Linked DNA regions of Homo sapiens: regions 1, 2 and 3 are each linked to region 4. Evidence: promoter capture Hi-C in 16 types of primary human blood cells and fetal thymus (Javierre and others, 2016). All regions are on one chromosome and are shown on one strand. Each heading gives the region's core, a stretch centred on a gene start or on the middle of the fragment in contact. The rest is flanking DNA. Distances are from core to core; before and after follow the strand shown.

Region 1 (2,700 bases), core at 143-2,642, 990 kb before region 4:
TTTAGATGTCATCTTTAAAATGCATGAGAGGATGCAGTTTTCCAAAATTCTTTTAGAAACAGACAATTTGAAGGCCACTGAGCTTCAGGCTTCATTCAGCTGGGTCGTGTCTGCGGGCGGGGCTCATAGAGATGTCGCTGGGGGTCAGCGGGTGCTTCGGGCAGCGAAAAAACCCACCTCTCGAGGGCAGTGGAAAATACAGGGAAAAGCCACTTGAGTGTAGACTCCGTGCGTGTCAAGGCCAGGCAGAGGCGCACTTGATAGGCAAGGAAAAGCGGACGGTGGTGGTCTTGGGAGGAAGAGAGGAGAGGCGAATGGGCAGGAGCGTGTGGATGCACTAGGGCAGGACGGGCTCGAAGCAGGAACCTAGGATAGAGGCAGCGCGGGCCGGCTTGGGAGGGTCCTCCAGGGTCCGGAGAGGAGAGGACGCAGGCTGCACGCGTGCTAAGAAGGAGACTCATGAAATGTGTAATTCGCTGGCGACAGCTTCCGCGGCCGTGGAGTGAGCCTCTGGGAAGTAACGACTCTCTTAGGTGCGGCTGGGACACAGTCTCACAGACCAGGTAAGTTGCCTGCCCTCCAGGAACTCAAGTGTCCCCGAGTCCGAGCCAGGAGGCTGGAAGTGACTGCTGTCCCATCCTCCCTGGAGCCCGGAGCTGTCCTTGTCTTGAGAAAGAGAAAGCAAAGCCAAGGAAAGCAGAGCGAGCAGAACCAGGCAAAGGGGTGGGGACAATAAAATGGGATATGGCCCGCGCTTCCATCTACTCAGGAGGCAGAGGCAGGAGGATCGCTTGAGCCCGGGAGGCCGAAGCTGCAGTGAGCTGCGGTTGCACCACTGCACTCCAGCCTGGGAGACAGAGGGAGACCCTGTCTAAAAATAAAGTAAAATAAAAAACAAAAATAAAAGGGACAGAGACTAAGAAAACGGACTTCCTGAAATCCCAAGTTGGGATTTCACGTCCAGTGACCCACAAGAGAAGCAAGAAGTCTGAACAGGGCCAAGAATCAAGTGAGTGGGGGCGGAGGATTAAAATCGACAGTTGCTGCGGCACGGCCAGGGTGGAGGGTGCATGTGGGGCAGGCGAGGCTCCAGCTGGAGTTGACGCTAGCCCGACGCGGGTGCAACTGGAGGCGCGACGGGCCAGGCCCAGGAGCAGCGGGAGGAGCGCACCTGGGGCGCGCGGGCGGAGGAGGGCCGGGGAGGGACGCCGGAAGGACTGGGTAGGGACGCCCGGAGGACTGAGCGTAGGGCCGAGAGGAGGGGCGCAAGGAGGAACGGGGGGAGGGCCCTGTCTCACCCTAAACCCCTCCCCGTCCCAGACTAAACTCCTCCCCTCGGCCCGGCCCGCCCCTGGGCCCGGGCTGGAAGCCGGAAGCGAGCAAAGTGGAGCCGACTCGAACTCCACCGCGGAAAAGAAAGCCTCAGAACGTTCGTTCGCTGCGTCCCCAGCCGGGGCCGAGCCCTCCGCGACGCCAGCCGGGCCATGGGGGCCGCACGCAGCCCGCCGTCCGCTGTCCCGGGGCCCCTGCTGGGGCTGCTCCTGCTGCTCCTGGGCGTGCTGGCCCCGGGTGGCGCCTCCCTGCGACTCCTGGACCACCGGGCGCTGGTCTGCTCCCAGCCGGTGAGACTCGACGTGGGGAGCGGTAGCCGCCAGGATGCTGCGGACGCGGGGCAAGGTCGCGGAGGGCCGGACGGTCGGGACTACGCGCCCGGGCTGGGGAGGCAGGAAGTCCGCGCCGCGGGCTTAGAGGGGCTCAGAGCCTTGGGCACAGATATCGCGGCGCCTGGGGAGGACCCTCGGAGCGGTGGGAGTTGCGGTGTGGAATACGGGGGGGGTGGGTGGCACATCGCGCGGCGCGTGTTGCACAACCTGGCCCGCCGTCGTGACTGGAGGCGGGAGTGACACCTCCGCCCGGGCCGCGGAGTTCGGGGAAGGAGGGCGCGGCGCTGGGCCAGGCCGGAGGGGCGGCCAGGGCTGATAGAAAGGGGCTGTGGAGAAGGGGCCCGGGGAGGAGCCAGGACGGGTCTGGACCCAGCTCCACGCCTTGCGCCCCTCACGTACCCCGGCGGGGCACGGTCGGCCCTCGGGAGGCCCATCGCGCCCTCGGGAGCTTCCCTCAAGCCGTGCCCTTCATGCCGCCGACGGAGCCGGGCGAGCCCACGTCGTCCGTGCGGAAGGTGGAGTCCCTCACCCGCGGCCCCCAGAGGGACCCCGCTGTCGTAGAGCCACGCGGGGGCCGGAGCGCTGAGACGCGGCACCATGTTTCGGGGAGAGCTCTGCCGAGGGCGGCTGAGGGCCACCTCCCCAGAGGCGCGAAGCCCTGAGGATGGGCAGATGGTTCTTAAGACGGCGCCCTTCCCGCCACTCCCACCCCCGACTACCACCACCTGGGTCTGGGAACCCGGTGAGAGCGCAGTCGGAGGGTCGAACGTTTGTAGCTGTCAAGTCGTAGCCCCGCTGCGCCCACAGGAAGTGACCCACCCGCCTGCCGGGTAGTGGCCTTTCTGTGAGCCAGGACCATCTTAAGGAAAAAAACAAAAAAAGAGCAAAACGCCGTGCCCCTCCACAATATACTCTCCTCTTCCCCGCATCCCCGAGGGGATCTTTCCTCCCCTCCACCTCCACCTCCACCTCCACCGCTGACCCCAAGGAATAATGCTCAGTATCTGAGTCAGAGGATGTAAAACAAAGGGATATT
Region 2 (2,797 bases), core at 259-2,758, 920 kb before region 4:
GGCACAGTAGCTCACGCCTGTAATCCCAGCACTTTGGCAGGCCGAGGTGGGCAGATCGCCTGAGGTTGGGAGTTCGAGACCAGCCTGACCAACACGGAGAAACCCTGTCTCTATTAAAAATACAAAATTAGCTGGGCGTGGTGGCACATGCCTGTAATCCCAGCTACTCGGAAGGCTGAGGCAGAATTGCTTGAACTCGGGAGATGGTGTTTGCAGTAAGCCAAGATCACATCGTTGCACTCCAGCCTGGGCAACAAGAGGGAAACTCCATCTCAAAAAATAAATAAATAAAAACAAAAAATAAATAAATAAATTTTTAAAAGGCCTAGATTTTAAGTGATATTAAGGAATTACTAATGTTGTTAGGTATGATACTGGCATCGTGGTTATGTTCAGAATGTCCTTATTTTCTTTTTTTTTTTTTTTTGGTTGAGACAAGACAGGGTCGCACTCTGTCACCAAGGCTGGGTGCACTAGTGTCATCTCAGCTCACTGCAACCTCAACCTCCTGAGCTCAAAGGATCCTCCTGCTTCAGCTTCCCAAGTAGCTGGGACTACAAGTATGTGCCACCACATGCCTGGCTAATTTTTTTTTTTTTTTCTTTTGTAGAGACAGGGTCTCCCTATGTTGCCCAGGCTGGTCTGGAACTCCTGGGCTCAAGTAATCCTTCCAACTCCCAAAGTGCTCAGATTACAGGTGTGAGCCATGGCACCCAGCCAGAATGTCCTTATTTTTCTTAGAGGTACACACAGAAGAATTTAGGTTTGAAATGACAAGAAATCAGAGATTTACTTTAAAATCTTAGAGCCACAAAAAAAGGAGGAGGGAGATAAGCAAAGCAGGTGTTGAAAAATGTTAATCATTGCTCAATCTGGGAGATGGGCACAGGGGTTCATATTATTCCCCATTTTTGAATTTTTGAAAACTTACATAGTTAAAAAACAGCTCATTTGTACAATGGTTGCAAAATTTACCATACATAGTTTTAACGGTCATTGCCTAAACAGTCACAAGATTTGCTTTCCTTTTTTTTTTTTTTTTGTTTGGTTGGTTTTTTTTGAGACGGAGTCTCACTGTCACCCAGGCTGGAGTGCAGTGGTGCAATCTCGACTCACTACAACCTCTGCCTCCTGGGTTCAAGTGATTCTCCTGCCTCAGCCTCCCAAGTAGCTGGGACTACAGACGCGCGCCAACACACCTGGCTTATTTTTTATATTTTTAGTAGAGACGGGGTTTCACCATATTGGCCAGGCTGGTCTCAAACTCCTGACCTCGTGATCCGCCCGTCGCGGCCTCCCAAAGTGCTGGGATTACAGGCATGACCCACCGCGCCCGGCCCAAGATCTGCTTTCTTAAAAATAAGAATCCATAGCCCCTGCTACTTAGAACAGCAAAGTTTTCAGGAAAATTGAGCAATATCCATAAGGCTCCCTCACCCATCACTCCAACCCCTCCCCAACCTTCAGGATGTACACAGAGAACCAGGCACCCAGTACCATAAAAAGTGAAGGTGTACATCAATTATAACAAATGTACCACACTAATGCAAGATGGTAATACAGTCACGCACCATAACGATGTTTCAGTCAATGACACACTGCATATACAATGGTCCCTTAAGATTATAATGGAACAGGAACTCATAGCTGAAGAAGAGGCAAGAGAAAAGGTAGCCACAGAAAGAAAAGAACATCCAAGAAAATTCACAGTGAAGGGTTCAGCAGCTTTTACAGACCTCAAGTTCCTTAAAAAGTCTGAAACATGAACTCCAACGCCAAAAGGTTTTCATTACTAGAGAAGAATGTTTATGGTACATTATCTGTTTACAAGCAAACCTATGACAAAAAAAAAGAAACCAAGCAAACCACAATGGACATATTTCTGATAAGAGTGACACCTCAAGAGCCTCAGAGAGGTCCTTCAGAAGATATCCAGAAGAAAGCACTGTTATCGCAGATGACAGTTCCATGCATATGACTGCCCCCTAAAGACCTTCTAATGGGACATGGTGTGAAGGCAGAAGACAGTGATATCAATTACCTGACCCGACCTTATGTAGGCCTGGGCTAGTAGGTGTTTGTGTCTTCATTTTTAACAAAAGTTAAAAAAAAAAATTTTTTTTAAGGTAGGGCACTGTGGCTCACGCCTGTAATCCCAGCACTCTGGGAGGCCAAGGCGGGCGTATCATGAGGTCAGGAGTTCGAGACCAGTCTGGCCAACATGGTGAAACCCCATCTCTACCAAAGATACAAAAAATTAGCCGGGCGTGGTGGTGCACACCTGTAATTTTTTTTAATAGAAAAAAGCTGCCTGTAATCCCAGCATGTTGCAAGGCCAAGGAGGGCAGATCACGAGGTTAGGAGATCGAGACCATCTTGGCTAACACAGTGAAACCCCATCTCTACTAAAAATCCAAAAAATTAGCCAGGCGTGGTGGCAGGCACCTATACTCCCAGTTACTCCGGAGGCTGAGGCAGGAGAATGATGTGAACCCAGGAGGCAGAGCTTGCAGTGAGCCGAGACCACGCCACTCCACTCCAGCCTGGGCAACAGAGCGAGCGAGACTCCGTCTCAAAAAAAAAAAAAAAGCTGGCTGGGCACGGTGGCTCATGCTTCTAATCCCAATACTTTGGGAAACCAAGGCAGGCGGATCATGAGGTCAGGAGTTCGAGACCAGCCTGGCCAACACAGTGAAACCCCGTCTCTACTAAAAATACAAAAATTAGCTGGGCGTGGTGGCAGGCGCCTGTAATCCCACGTACTTGGGAGGCTGAGGCAGGCGAATCACTTGAACCT
Region 3 (2,700 bases), core at 198-2,697, 520 kb before region 4:
TTCCAGGATTCCTAGTGAAGCATGGAACTGTCGTGTTTACAGTTTGCTAAACATATGCTGTCCGTGGAAAAGGAAGCTAATCGGAAGCATCCATGATACAGAGAAATGAAAGCCAAGACACCAGTTCCAGGATGATGGAAGTTCATATCCGTACGCAAATGCTGAACCTGGTGCTGCTGCCTAGGGCTCAGGCAGATTTGAGAGTTGAGTAGGGAACACAGGTGCCTCTAAGGTATAATGCACAAAAATACAGATTTTCTCTCAGAGAGGTTTTAATTTTAAATTTGATGTATTTGCAAGTGGATTGAGTTTTGAGCCTGTGTTCTCACTGGATCCTAATTCTTGTTAGAAACCTATCACTGGCATAACCTGGTTTAGAAGAGTGAAGAGGACAGAAGGATTGTGGATGGGTCTGCCCTTTAGCTAGTATCCGCTAACATGGGGCATTACTACTTCAGTTTCTGTGTTTGTGCAGAAGCAGGGAGGAGGTAAAAAGCTAGTTTGGAGCTGGTTAGACCTGGTCTAGGCCCAGAGAATTTGGCCACTGACAGCCTTTCTCTTTTCCTGGTAATGCTGGTTTGAATCAGAGGCCTCTCACTTCTCCTTAACAGGAGCACTGACACTGTGGGCCTCTCCCCATGACTACCCCAGGGGCCTGGGTGGGAGTGGCTGTAAGCAGCAGTTGGGCCATTGCCCCCTTTCCTTCTGCCCTCGTGGTCCTTGAGCAGTTGTGTGCACACTCTTCCAGGTAATCCTGTCTCCTCTCTCTCCCAGTGACCGCCCCAATCAGCTGTTGCTAGAGCGATGCTGTGAACGATACAGGAAAAGTCAGTAAATCCCTTTATCCTTAATCTCCCTTCTTGGTTTTCGACAGAAAATATTAAGGAAGAGCAATAGGAAATAGAACTACTGTATTATAACACTGTGAACAAGAACATCAGCAGCAGCAGAATTGTCAGCCTTCCTGCGTCCTGTGTGGGAATGTGTCCATGCCTTATAGGTACTAGTGCTTCGTCCATTGTCCAGGGAGTGTCCTGAGCTTTCACTGGTCTTTGAAGTGCAGATCTGCTATAAGCTGTCTGGAGCTGCAAGGTTGCAGGAATCCACAGGAGCGTGAGCTGCTGTGAACCCCTAGCCCACCCATCCCCAAGCAGGATCTTCTTCTCACCTTTTCTTCCTCCTCTAGCACTTCTCTTTCCAAGTGTCTTAAGCAGATGCAATGTCTTAAAGCAGATGCAAATGCATTTGCCATCTTCTCCATTAGGAAAATGATGGTTATGTGATATGTTATATTTAGGAAGTAGTGTGTAAGGTATCCTGAAAAGGTTTGCTCTCAAGCTAGAAGGACATTTCACCCTGTGGGTCACTGTCACCTTGTCAGCGTGCCGGCTCTCAGTGGTCCCCAGGAGGATGGGGATAGCTGAGATCGTGGAGAATGGGAAATACCATTGCATCTCTTTGATTTAACACTCATGGCTCACCTTTAGTAGAGTTGTTAATAAGTTAGAAACTTGTGTCCCTAAGGCCCAAGAGAAAAGATGAGCTTCTTGGGAGGATTCTGGGTTTGTTTTCCCCTCAGAATTAAAAAATAGTTTTTAATTCAGCTACTTTTTCCCCTCAGTTAAAAGGTAGCAGGAGCTATTGGCTGAAATTTGTTACAGTGAATGAATGTGGAGAATAAATAAGAACAAACCCTGTAGGATTCTTGTTGACGTAACTTTCCATCCCACCTCTCCGCCTCTCCTTCATCACCAGCCTTCATCAGGTTGGTTTAGTTTACCTGGCCGTACACACGAGCTGCTCATCAACAGTTCGTATCTTCTCACTGAGCCCGGGCCAGATGCTCTCAGAAGGCCTTCTCATGCTCCTCTTCGTTAGGCTTAGTGAAAACCTTAAGACCTGCAGTTTGTGCCCCTCAGTTCAGTCAGACCTCAGCTTTAAATGTCGATTTACTCTGTCTTGTTCCCTGAAAGTGTTTCTTGTGACTAAGCATTTGGTGTCATTATCCCATGCCATTTATCTGCTGTATAGTTACTATATTATTTTTGCTGATTCCTACTGCTGGCAGATGCCATCCCAGGCCCACAAAATCCCAGTGTTGCAGTCACCACAGCTGTCAGAAACAAGTTTGCAATCCATACTTCTTGGTTCAATTTTTTTTTTTAATGGACATTCAAATCTGTAAATACTACACTGCTCTTAAGACCTGATTTGAAATTTCACAGGAAGGCCTAATCCTATAGTCACAAGGTAAGGACAGTTGAGTAGTGTAAGAACCCCAACCTGCTTGCAGAGAACCTTGGTTTTCATAGAAAGGAAAGGCTGAAGGTTTTCTAGCATTGTTGCCCTTCTTTGTCTGTCAGTCAGTTCACCCTCTGTGATTCTCCATGGACCCGCATTGCAGAAAATCAGTCCCATATATTAGTGAGCCATGTACTGCCCAATCCGGGGGCTCCTGGGGTGTGGTGTGTCCACCAGTGACTCTCCGGACACTAGCTTCAGTAAGGATACTTCTTATTTCGGTTGAGAATGCAGAGGCTTTTATTCGTGGACTCACATCACTGCATAGCACAAAGAATGTGATTGCCATTTGCTGCGTGAGAAAAAGCTGGGCTCCCTATTTCTTTTTTGGGTTGGACTCTGCCGTGCAGCCATAGGACACCAAGCCTCACGCACTTTCCCCTTGGGACAGTAGTGTTT
Region 4 (2,700 bases), core at 168-2,667:
ACTAAGTATGTTTGCTATTCAGGGGATACACAGTCATTCCATGAGCAAGTTACACAATGTAAAATAAGGACATTGTGAAAAACAAAACCATACCGTACATAATGCACTTTATAGTAAAGTACTGGGAACAGAGTATTTGGTAAATTGTAACTATAATAATAATTTTAAACAGATCCACAAATCACACTTATTATTATATTCTGTTTCACCCGGGCTTTGCCAAGCTTCCCACATTTGTACTAGATCCTCTTGGCTTTAGTTTCTCCCCAGTTCTCTACCCTTTGAATTCACTCCAAAGCTTCCCTAGAATCTTTGCTCTCCTAGAAATTAGATTAAACAGGCACCTGCTCACATCATACATCCCCTGCCCTTGTCACCAGACATGCACACATCCATCTTCTGGGATTTCCGTTCTCTTGCAGAAAAGTCTGCATGGGAAGCTGAGGCAGAACCAAGTCCACCAGACTCCGAGGAAAGAGAAGTCTGGACCCTGTAACCAGATAAAAGTGAAACCAGGACTTCATTTATTCCACAAATACTTTTTGACTACCTATAGATGACAGGCACTGTTCAAGGCATTGAGGTTCCCACAGTGAACAAAAGAGACAAAAACGTCTGCCTTTGTGAGTTTATATCATAGTGGAAGGAAATAGACAATAAAAATAAGTAAAATATAGACATTGGTATGTAGATGGTGATAAATGATAAGGAGAAATATAAAGACAGATCGGAAGTGACAACAGTGGGGAAGTGGAATTGGTATCTGCATTTAACGTTGTTTTTTAACAGCAAATTCAGGATGGGGCAGAGAGCAGTGAGAAAAATGAGGCCCTTATGCTCAGCGCCCCCAACCCCGCCTCGGTGGGGTCACTATTCATTTTGGAACATTGCCCTTGGGACCAACATATTCTCAGTGGTCCTTGTGAAGGTTTCCACCCTAAGTCCCTCATCCTCACCAGGCAATATTCATTACCCTACAGCAAACTCCGGAGGCAACGCGGAGAAAGTGTGAATCAATTCAAGACTAAGGTTGCCAAAATGTTTGATCAGCTCTGCGTCAGCCTTGACATTACATTACATTACAGATCCCCTGATCGCCACCGTCGCAGAAGCTCTGAATTAAAAGCGTGCATGTAGCTGCACATCCATTGCTGGCACTTCTTCCGTTAGCCTCCGCTGGAACTGGTTAGTGAGGACCCCTCCATTTCACAAGACAGCTTCGGTTTTGCTTCGTTTTGACTTCCGCACCCCGAAGCTGTAGCACCAGTTTGTTTTCTCACGGCACAGGGGCGGCTTCCGGGGCGCGGCGTGCTGGGGGTTGTAGTCCGCGCTCTGCCTCCTACTTCCATTACAGAAGGCGATGGGCCGAGAGCTGAGGAACTACAACTCCTAGAGTACTCCGCGCCGCCGGGACGCCGCGCGGCTGCGGGGCTGGGCGAGCGCAAAGATGTCCGCGCCCGCTGCCGGGAGGCGAGGTGAGTCTTTGATCGTAACCAGGAGCCCGGAGCTGAGGCAGTTCCTGCACGTGTCGCGGGGCCGGAGAAGCTAGGGCCAGGTATTCCAGGGATGCAAGAATCCTGCAAATCTGACGTGTAAACTGCTTCCCCAGCCTCCAGGCGAGCCCAGCTTTTGCCTCAGATAGGCCCCTTCCTTTTCCTTCTCGGGGAATCGACCTCGGGAAGGGGTGTGGGCAAAGAGATGAGGACTCTCCCTCTTCGCCCAGGCCAACTCGGGATATCCCGGAGCCTCTGGGGAGGCGGTCACTCCGACGTCTGAGGACCTGGGCCTTGGACCCGGACTCGTTATGAAGAGCGATTCTTCGACCTCTGCAGCCCCCCTCAGGGGGCTCGGGGGACCCCTGCGCAGCAGCGAGCCGGTGCGCGCGGTCCCGGCCCGGGCGCCGGCCGTGGACCTTCTGGAGGAGGCGGCCGACCTCCTGGTGGTGCACCTGGACTTCCGGGCGGCGCTGGAGACCTGCGAGCGGGCCTGGCAGAGTCTGGCCAACCACGCCGTGGCAGAGGAACCCGCGGGCACGTACGTGCTGGGCTCGGAAATGAACCGATTTCCGGGCGCTCTTGTGGTGGGGCTCAAGGTCTCAGGAGTTCTGTCCTTCCCAGATTGCCCACAAGGAGCTTTACACCTCGCTTTCATCAGTGGTTTGTCTCCGAGAGGGTGGTCGCTCATCGTGTGCCCATTCTACAGAGAAGGGAAGTCGTGTAACAAAAACTTAGTGGGGATCCCACAGCCAATTATTTGCTCCTTGTTCCAAGGTACAATGACATGATGGGAAGGCTGAATGTGTATTAAGTGCTAAGTTCTGTCAGTAAGCAGGTGGTAAAAGTCCTCTCCCAGGTACCTCCGCCCTCCCCGCCCCGCCCAAGGTTGTTTATTCCTGACCTTGGCTGATGATGGGGAATGGGGGTCATGGCAGGAGCAGCGTTCTGGTCCAATTAGAGGACTGGATTAAAGAATTAATTCAGGGCCGGGAGCTGGGGCTTACGCCTGTAATCCCAGCACTTTGGGAGGCCGAGGCAGGAGGATTGCTTGAGCCCAGGAGTTCGAGACCAGCCTGGGTAACATAATGAGCCCTCTTCTCTACCAAAAAGAAGAAAAAGAAAAGAATCCGGAGAAAAAAACCTTGGGCTTGCATTGCTCTTTCTAATGCCACCAGCCTCGTCTGGCAGGTGAGGGAGTCATTTC

The links. Contacts are between HindIII fragments. The CHiCAGO score rates a contact against its expected background, and 5 or more counts as called.
Region 1: a contact is called between the fragment with the promoter of IL17RA here and the fragment with the promoter of PEX26 in region 4, in 4 of 17 cell types (fetal thymus, total CD8 T cells, monocytes and 1 more). The highest score is 7.9, in fetal thymus.
Region 2: a contact is called between a fragment that was not itself captured here and the fragment with the promoter of PEX26 in region 4, in 2 of 17 cell types (total CD8 T cells and fetal thymus). The highest score is 6.3, in total CD8 T cells.
Region 3: a contact is called between a fragment that was not itself captured here and the fragment with the promoter of PEX26 in region 4, in 3 of 17 cell types (megakaryocytes, M2 macrophages and endothelial precursors). The highest score is 8.3, in megakaryocytes.

The regions. Positions count from the first base shown.
Region 1 is chr22:17,083,608-17,086,307 of GRCh38, forward strand. IL17RA (interleukin 17 receptor A) reads left to right here and starts at 1,393. Exons shown (of 13, transcript NM_014339.7): 1 at 1,393-1,622. The coding sequence starts at 1,485. RefSeq lists an enhancer at 453-622 and silencers at 1,176-1,395, 1,416-1,535, 1,786-1,885, 1,926-2,175. The HindIII fragment of the contact is 13,521 bases long and covers 1-2,700 here.
Region 2 is chr22:17,154,206-17,157,002 of GRCh38, forward strand. All of the region lies in intron 1 of HDHD5 (haloacid dehalogenase like hydrolase domain containing 5), which reads right to left. Among named protein-coding and RNA genes, the nearest start is that of HDHD5, 3.7 kb to the right of the region's middle. The HindIII fragment of the contact is 5,617 bases long and covers 1-2,797 here.
Region 3 is chr22:17,554,410-17,557,109 of GRCh38, forward strand. It overlaps CECR2 (CECR2 histone acetyl-lysine reader), which reads left to right. Exons shown (of 19, transcript NM_001290047.2): 19 at 1-2,700. Among named protein-coding and RNA genes, the nearest start is that of SLC25A18, 7.7 kb to the right of the region's middle. The HindIII fragment of the contact is 4,426 bases long and covers 1-2,700 here.
Region 4 is chr22:18,076,573-18,079,272 of GRCh38, forward strand. It overlaps PEX26 (peroxisomal biogenesis factor 26), which reads left to right and starts at 1,418. Exons shown (of 5, transcript NM_001127649.3): 1 at 1,418-2,034. The coding sequence starts at 1,805. LOC105372853 (a long non-coding RNA gene) reads left to right here. Exons shown (of 6, transcript XR_001755424.2): 6 at 1,086-1,324. RefSeq lists enhancers at 1,092-1,151, 1,482-1,711, 2,192-2,241 and a silencer at 1,782-1,831. The HindIII fragment of the contact is 13,258 bases long and covers 297-2,700 here.